Regions from separate parts of the Homo sapiens genome. Here region 2 is linked to region 1. Evidence: promoter capture Hi-C in human tissues and cell types (Jung and others, 2019). All regions are on one chromosome and are shown on one strand. The core of a region is centred on a gene start or on the middle of the fragment in contact, and the rest is flanking DNA. Distances in the headings are between cores, read along the strand shown.

Evidence for each region. The method cuts DNA at HindIII sites, captures the fragments that hold promoters and counts their contacts. A contact is called where the count stands out against the background at its distance.
Region 2: a fragment that was not itself captured here is called in contact with the fragment with the promoter of TOMM7 in region 1 in 4 of the 25 tissues and cell types used here (hippocampus, neural progenitor cells, spleen and 1 more).

The regions. Positions count from the first base shown.
Region 1 is chr7:22,820,946-22,825,179 of GRCh38, forward strand. It overlaps TOMM7 (translocase of outer mitochondrial membrane 7), which reads right to left and starts at 1,904. Exons shown (of 3, transcript NM_019059.5): 1 at 1,732-1,904. The coding sequence starts at 1,834. It overlaps LOC112267993 (a long non-coding RNA gene), which reads left to right and starts at 2,012. Exons shown (of 3, transcript XR_002956543.2): 1 at 2,012-2,754. RefSeq lists enhancers at 1,385-2,145, 1,815-1,894, 1,925-2,134. The HindIII fragment of the contact is 34,135 bases long and covers 1-4,234 here.
Region 2 is chr7:22,900,332-22,904,565 of GRCh38, forward strand. It overlaps a transcript of HYCC1 not described here. Among named protein-coding and RNA genes, the nearest start is that of SNORD93, 46 kb to the left of the region's middle. The HindIII fragment of the contact is 7,280 bases long and covers 1-4,234 here.

The sequences.
Region 1 (4,234 bases), core at 654-3,153:
TGCATGACACCTAAATTAAATAGGAAGCAGCACCTTGTTAAAACCATAGCATTTTAAAATGTGAAACTGAGTTTTACAATTGTCAAACTATATGCTCAAACTGACACAGCTGGGATGAAAAACCTGCTCTTTCCCTTTCACCGAACTGCCTGAGTGGGGCAGTAAAATTAAAAAGAAAAAACTTGGCCAGGCACGGTGGCTCACGCCTGTAATCCCAGCACTTTGGGAGGCCGAGGCGGGCGGATCACGAGGTCAGGAGATCGAGACCATCCTGGCTAACACGGTGAAACCCCGTTTCTAGTAAAAATACAAAATATTAGCCCGGCATGGTGGCGGGCGCTGTAGTCCCAGCTGTGCGGGAGGCTGAGGCAGGAGAATGGCGAGAACCCGGGAGGCGGAGCTTGCAGTGAGCTGAGATCGCGCCACTGCACTCCAGCCTGGGCGAGGCAGACCCCGTCTCAAAAAAAAAAAAAAAAAAGAAAAAGAAAAAACTACAGCCTGGCCGCGGTGATTCACACTTGTAATCCCAGCACTTTGGGAGGCCGCGCGCGGGGCGGAGGCCGGCTGGAGGGGAGGTAGCTAACTTGAGGCCAGGAGTTTGAGGCCAGCCTGGCCCACATAAGCAAAACCCCGTCTCTACTAAAAATATAAACATTAGCCGCGAGCGGTGGCTGCAAGTCTGTAATCACAGCTACTCGGGAGGCTAAGGGGGAAGGATCGCTTGATCCCGAGAGGCAGAGATTGCGGTGGGCAGAGATCGCGCCACTACACTCCAGCCTGGGCACACAGCGACTGTCTCAAAAAGGAAAAAAGGAAAAAAAAAGACAGAAAAGAAAAGAAAAAACTACAGAATAGGTCCCAGTCTGCAACCCTAACTGAAAAATATTAACAAATCCTTGCAGTAAGTGACCGAGCCTGTTGGCACCAGCCTGTAGTCCCAGCTACTTGGGAGACTGAGGTGGAAGGATCGCTAGAGCACAGGAGGGGAAGGTTGCAATGAGCCGGGATAGCGCCACTGCACTCCAGTCTGGGTGACAGAGCGAGACTCTGTCTTAAAAACAAAAACCAAAAAAACCCCAAATCCTTTAAGTGCGCTATAATGGTTAAGACTATGGGCTCTGATGCCCCACTGCCTGAGCCCCTAACTCCCTCAGTCAGCATAGCTGTGCGACCTTGGCAAAAAAGTTTCTCTACGGCTGTTTCCTCACCTGTAAAATGGGGGCAGTAATAGAAATCATCCAAACCCTTCATCGTACAGGTAAGAAAGCAGAGGCATCCAACGACTATTATTATAATCATGCTTTCATGGCAGTGGTACTTTCACGAGGTGTCTCGATTCCCTGAACAGGACTCTTTCCACTTAGGACCACATGGAGCGGTGAGGAAAAACACCCCGAGAACCACCTAGTGCTAGAGAGTGAATTAGTGACTTTCACATCCACTGGGGTCATCCAACCCTCCCTACAATCCCGAGAAATATGACCTCCACTTTAAGGATGCAAAAATAGAAAAGGAGGGATTGCAAGACTGCTTAAAGACCATGCAACTATAAAGCGATAGAACGGGAACTCGAACTCAGGTTAGATCGGCCCCACTTGACCAGACAGCCTCAGGGGCCGTGCACGGCAGTGTCCCCTATTTTTCTCTCCCTCCCCCGACGGCCAAAAATGGGGCTGCTGTCTCCGCCACCCTCTTCCCTCCAGTCACTTTCCCGGTTCTTCTCCCACTGACCCAGGTAAATCACAAGAGGGATAAAGCCCCAGCGAATGGCAAACTGGCTCCCCTTGAAGAGCTGCTGTAGTCTCTGCTTGGCCTCTTTGCTCAGCTTCACCATGGCGACGGCCGTGTGGCGCAGGGAGGACCCCTTACAGCAACCACAGCGTCGGGAATCCGAAAGGGAAAGGAGGTGCGCAGGCGCCACACACGGCCTTTACGGCAGGAGTCGTGAGCGTCGCCAGCAGAGGTCGTAATTCATCGCCTTTAACCTTCCCTGCTCTTCCGCCTCGCCGGCAGTAGTAGGCGCATGCGTGGTTGCGATCATGGCTGGCGGTAACTTCGCGTTTCTGTTACCCATTTTTAAAACGCATCTTCAGGTGTTCCTTCCTTCTCATGGAAGGAACATTAATTAAATTCAGAGGGACTGGGTTTTAGTCCTAACTCTTATTCCTACTGGCTGTGTAACCGTGGACAAATTATTTAACTTCTCAGAATCAGGTTGTTCAAACCTGAGGTTGAACTGCAAAAAGGTTACGAAGTGACACTCAGTAGGGCCCGAATCCATGTTTTCTTTGATCCCAATCTTTTTTAAAAAAATTTCTTTTAATTACTTGCCAACATTTTAGAATTTGGAAATCTCACATGAAATTCTGGACTTTTGAAGCTGAGGAATTCCATTGCAACAATCAAGGAGACTAAATAGGAAATGACACTTCTGTTTGGCCATCTTGCCCTCATTGGTTTAGAATGGCAGTGGTTCTCAACCCTGGCTGCACATTAGAATCACTTTAGGAGAGGTAAAACCATACTCACGCTGGAGACCTACTCCTAGAAATTCTAAAGAGTTTGGGGCTGGGAACTGGCCATTGATCTGCCTTTGAAGTTTCCCAAGTGATTCCCAACCTCTGATGTAATAAATTTCTGGCTGCTGTCGTATTTGAGATTTGACCCCCCCAGGTCTAAGACTTAATTGATTTTTAAGGCTGTAAGACATTTCTAAGACTTTGACTTTTAAGACTTTCCTGCCTCATTCTGAAGGTACGTAGTCGTTTTCTGTGCCCAATGTCTGTGCTCCTAAAAATTTCCCCTTGCTGACCTCTGTGGCTTGCGCCTGTAATTCTGGCTATTTGGGAGGCTGAGGCGGGAGGACCACTTGAGTTTGATGCTGCAGTGAGCTGTGATTGGGTCACTTGCTGTAAGCTCCCAAAGGGTTCACTTTGCCCGCTGCCTGGACAGAGCCGATTGATCAACACTGGGGAATTACAATAAAGAGTAATTCACGCAGAGCTGGCTGTGCAGGAGACCAGAGTTTTATTATTACTCAAATCAGTATCCCATAGCATTCGGGGATCAGAGTTTTTAAGGACAATTTGGTGCGTGGGGAGACAGCCAGTAAGTCGGAAGTGCTGATTGGTTGGGTCAGAGATGAAATCACAGGGAGTGGAAGCTGTCTTGTACTGCCTCAGTTCCTGGGTCGGGGCCACAAGATCAGATGAGCCAGTTTGCCGATCTGGGTGGTGCCAGCTGATCCATTTTGCAGGCTCTGCAAAGTATCTCAAGCACTGATGTTAGGCTTTACAATAGTGTTATTCCCAGGAGCAATTTGGGAAGGGTCAGAATCTTAGTTCCTGGGTTGGGACCACAAGATCAGATGAGCCAGTTTACCTATCTGGGTGGTTCCAGCTGATCCATTTTGCAGGGTCTGCAAAATATCTCAAACACTGATGTTAGGCTTTACAATAGAGTTGTTATCCCCAGGAGCAATTTGGGGAGGGTCAGAATCTTGTAGCCTCCAGCTGCATGACTCCTAAACCATAATGTCTAATCTTTTCGCTAATCTGTTAGCCTGTATACCAAACCTGCACATGCACTCCCTGAAACTAAAGTAAAAGTTGGAAAGAGCAAAAAAAAAAAAAGAAATAGTTTATGTTTTGGTGGAGCTCAGATAACAACAGCAAGGGACAATATAATGACTAAAAGCACAAACCAACTGTGTGATCTTTGATCAATTATTTAATATCTCTGAATCTCAGTTTCCTTACCTGTAAAATGAAGCCAACTATATATATTTAAATCCTTACAAAATTAGTAAAATAAGCTATAATGCACTGCAATCTTACAAATTCCTGTAAGGATTAAAAGAATTTTTTTAGGCAAGAAGGGGATTTGTTTAGGGAAAGGGCTGTTATCATCTTTGTTTTAAGCTATAAACTAAAAGTTCTTTCCAAAGTTAGTTCAGCCTATGCCCAGGAGTGAACAAGGACAGCTTGGAGGTTAGAAGCAAGATGGAGTTGGTGATGTCAGATGTCTTTCGCCGTCTCAGTTATAATTTTACAGTGGCAGTTTCATCACTACAATCCAGCCTGGGCAACAGAGTGAGACCACATCTTTAAAAACAAGAAAAAAAAATTCACCTCATATTATAGTGTTCTTCTGCTAGGCTCATCATCATGAATAATAACAACCTGTGTCTACTATGCCTGTCACTGTGTTAAGTGCTGAAAAATAGTTCTTTTTT
Region 2 (4,234 bases), core at 538-3,037, 79 kb after region 1:
TTCTTTCCTACTAGCAAATATCAAACAAAGAGAATCCCCTATTTCAGTGTAGATGGATTCATTCTCCAATTCTAGAATGTGAATCAAATTTGTCTAACCTAGTCACTATCCATGGACAATGGTTGGTCTAAAGGTAGTGATTAAACCCAATTTTAGCCAATGAGATGTAAACAGATATCTGCTAGGTAAGCTTCCAGGAAAACCTTTGAAGCACTGTATTAAAAAGGCAAGATCTGCTTAGGGATGTATATTATAATTCTTAGAGCAATCATTAAAATAGCAATACAAAGAAATATAGCTAAAAATCAAATAGATAAATTAAAATGGAATACTAGGAAAATTGTTTAAAAAACAATAAGATGGGAACAGAAGAACAAAAAATGAAGGGTACAGATGATGAGATGATGAAATGATAGACCTAGATTCAGCCATATCAATAATTACATTAAATGTTAATGATCTAAACACATTAAAAAGCAAAAATTATCAGAGTGAGTAGAAAAAAGCAAGACTCAACTATATGCTCTGTACATGATACCATCTTTATTTGTGTCTTCTCTAAGTAAGAAGACACAAATAGGTTTGAAAGTACATGCAACGAAAAACATACTGGCCTGGCATGGTGGTTCATGCCTGTAAGCAATTTGGGAGGCTGAGGCAGGCAGATTCCTTGAGCCCAGGAGTTTGAGACTACCCTGGGCAACATGCCAAAACCTCATCTCTACTAAAAATACAAAAAGTTACCCAGGTGTGGTGGTTTGTGCCTGTAGTCCCAGCTATTTGGAAGGCTGAGGTGGGAGGATCGCTTGAGCCCAGGAAGTTGAGGGGGCAGTAAGCCATGATTGCACCACTGCACTACAGCCTGGACAATGGGAGTGAGACCCTGTCTCAAAAAAAAAAAAAAAAAAAAAAAAAGGAAAGAAAAATATACACCAATAATTCTTTTTAAAAAATGTTAAGCAACCCAGAGGAAGTCAGAAAAAATAAACAAAAAAGAAGAAACTAACAGAAAACTAAAAATAGAAAAAAATAGAATGAAAGATTTAAGCCCTGACATATCAATAATTACATTAAATGTAACTGGTGTAAACACACCAATTAGAAGACGAAGATTGGCAGAGTGGATAAAGAACATAGCCTAACTATATACTGTCTACAAGAAACTCATTTCAAATACAAATCCTAAGAACATTTTTAGGGACTAAATGTTTGTGTTTCCACAAAATTCATTTGTTGAAGCTCTAGCCCCAACTAAGATGGTATTTGGAAAAATAAGTAAGCCTAAGAAGGCTGAAGAGGATATATTGATATCAGATTAAATAAACAATAAGACAAGAATATTACCAGAGATAAAAGAGAATATATCAGAAATATAAAAGGAGCAATCCATCAGAAAGACATATAAATTATAAATATGTGCCTAATAACAGAACCTCAAAATACATGAAGAAAAAAAATTAACCAAATTAAAGGGAGAAACAGATAATTCTGCAATCATAGTAAAATATTTTAATATACTTCTTTTATCAATTGATAGAACAACTAGACAAAATTCAGGACATAGTAGATTTGAATAATACTATAAAATATCTTGATATAATCAGCATTTGTATAATATTACATCCAACAATTGCAGAATACATATCCTCTTCAAGTACACATGGTACATTCACCAAGACAGACCATATGCTGAGCCATAAAACAAATCTCAATAACTTCTAAGGAATTGATAGCATGTAGAGCATATTGTCCAACCACAATAGAATTAAATTACAAATCGTATCAATAAAAGTAACATATCTAGGAAACCTCAAATATTTGGAAATTAAATGCAAGCTTTCAAATGTTATAAGTCAAAGGAGAAATCAGAAGGAAATTTAGAAATTATGTTAAACACAATGACAAAAATAGAACACATAAAAATATATGGGATGTGGGTAAAGCAGTGCTTAGGGAGAAATGTATAGTTTTAAATGCTTGTATTAGAAAACAATTTGATAGTTTTAAATTAATGATTATTTTAAGAAGCTAAAAAAAAACCCAAAGTAAGTATCAGAAAGTAAATAAAATTAATTACAACAAAAGTCAGAAAAATAGAAAACACACAATAGAGAAAATTAACAAAACCAAAAGCTAGTTCTTTGAAAATATTACCAACAAAGAATTATTGGAACCAAAATTTAAATAATCTGAAACTGAGAAGCCCTGAGCTACAGTAACAAACCAGTTTGGCCTTAGCAAACGGTAGATATATAGACCAGGAGAACTGGATAGACAGTCCAGAAATATGCCATATATATGGTTATTTTTTTTAAAGTGTCAAGGAAATTCAATGGAAAAAAATATTTTCAACAAATGGTGCTGGAACTATTGCATATCTATATGGGGAAAAAATGAACACTGACCCTTTCTTCAAATCATGTACAAAAATTAAGGCAAACTGTATAATAGACTAATATAAAATCTAAAACTATAAAACTTCCAGAAGACAACTAGGATAAAATTTTAGTGACCTTGAGATAAACATAGTTTCTTAGATAGGAACACTAAAGCATAGACCATAAATGGAAGAAATGATAAATTAAACTGCAGCAGCCAAGGAAGGTATACAAATGACCAGTAAGCACATAAAAAGGTATTCAATAACATTAGTCATTAGGAAAATGCAAATCAAAACCACAGTAAGATACCACCTCACACATACTAGAATAGCTAGAATAAAAAAGGCAGTGTTGATAAATTTTGGAAAGGAGGTGAAGGAATTGCATCCCTTATACACTCCTGGAGTGGGGGAGTATAAAATAAAGCAGCCACTGTGGAAAACAGTTCAGTGGTTTCTCAAAAGGTTGAACATAGTTTCCACATAATCCAGTAATTTCACTCATAGGCATATATTCAAGCGAAATGAAAACATGCAAGCATACAAACTTGTACACAAATGTTCATAACAGCTTTATTTGTAATAGCCCTAAACTGGAAACAATCTAAAATTGACAAACTTCTTGTAATGAAAAAAAAAGAGACTCCAAATAACCAAGAATTTAAAAACAATTATAACTATAGATTCAACCAATATTAAAAGGATTGTGAGAGAATATTATGAAAAACCTTATGCCAACAAATTTGACAACTTACATAAATGAACAAACTCCTAGAAAAATAAAACTTATCAAAATTGACACAAGAAGAAACAGAAAATCTGAATAGCTCTATCTCTGTTAAAAGAAATTAATTTGTTACCAGCAACCTACCCACAAAGTAAATTCTAGGACACTTAGTTTCACTGGTAAATTTTATCAATCAAGGAAGAAATAATACTGATCTCATGTAAAATTTTCAGAAAATAAAGCAGGAGGAAACACTGTCTACTCATGTTATGAGACAATAACTCTAATGTCAAATTCTTTTTTAAAATGACATACTAATATCCCTCATGAGTAGTGGTTCATGATGTTTCCCTCTTAAAGGAAATTTGTCAACATGTGAAGACATTTTTTAATATCATAACCTGGCCAGAGAGGGGTGGACAACCACTGGATAAAGGAATAAGCACTAGGAATCAACATTTCTGTAACATTTCACAATTTTTATTATGAAATGTTGAAGGAAAAATGAAGGGATTATAATTTTCCTATATTCCCTAACAAATTTTATTTTTACCTAGAAGTAGATAGCTATAAACATACCATAATATTCAAGCTGATAAAACAAAATCAAGAAAATGTATAACATAGTAAGACCAATAATATCAAAAATGTAGAAATTATCAAATCCTAAAGAAACTTAGTAATTGAAACCTTAAAAAAATATGTTTTTAGGGCCGGGCATGGTGGCTCATGCCTGTAATCCCAGCACTTTGGAAGGCCAAGGCGGGCGGATCACGAGGTCAGGAGATCGAGACCATCTTGGCTAACACAGTGAAACCCCATCTCTACTAAAAGTACAAAAACTTAGCCGGGCGTGGTGGCAGGTGCCTGTAGTCTCAGCTACTTGGGAGGCTGAGGCAGGAGAATGGCATGAATCCAGGAGGCGGAGCTTGTAGTGAGCTGAGATCGTGCCACTGCACTCCAGCCTGGGCAACAGAGCGAGACTCTGTCTCAAAAAAAAAAAAAAAGTAATAATAATAATAATATATATATGTCTTTGGTAACCCATAGCACTTATTCCTGGAAAGCAAAGTGAAGTAAAACATAATTCATCATGCTTTCAACAGAATAAAGGTATAAGTCACATT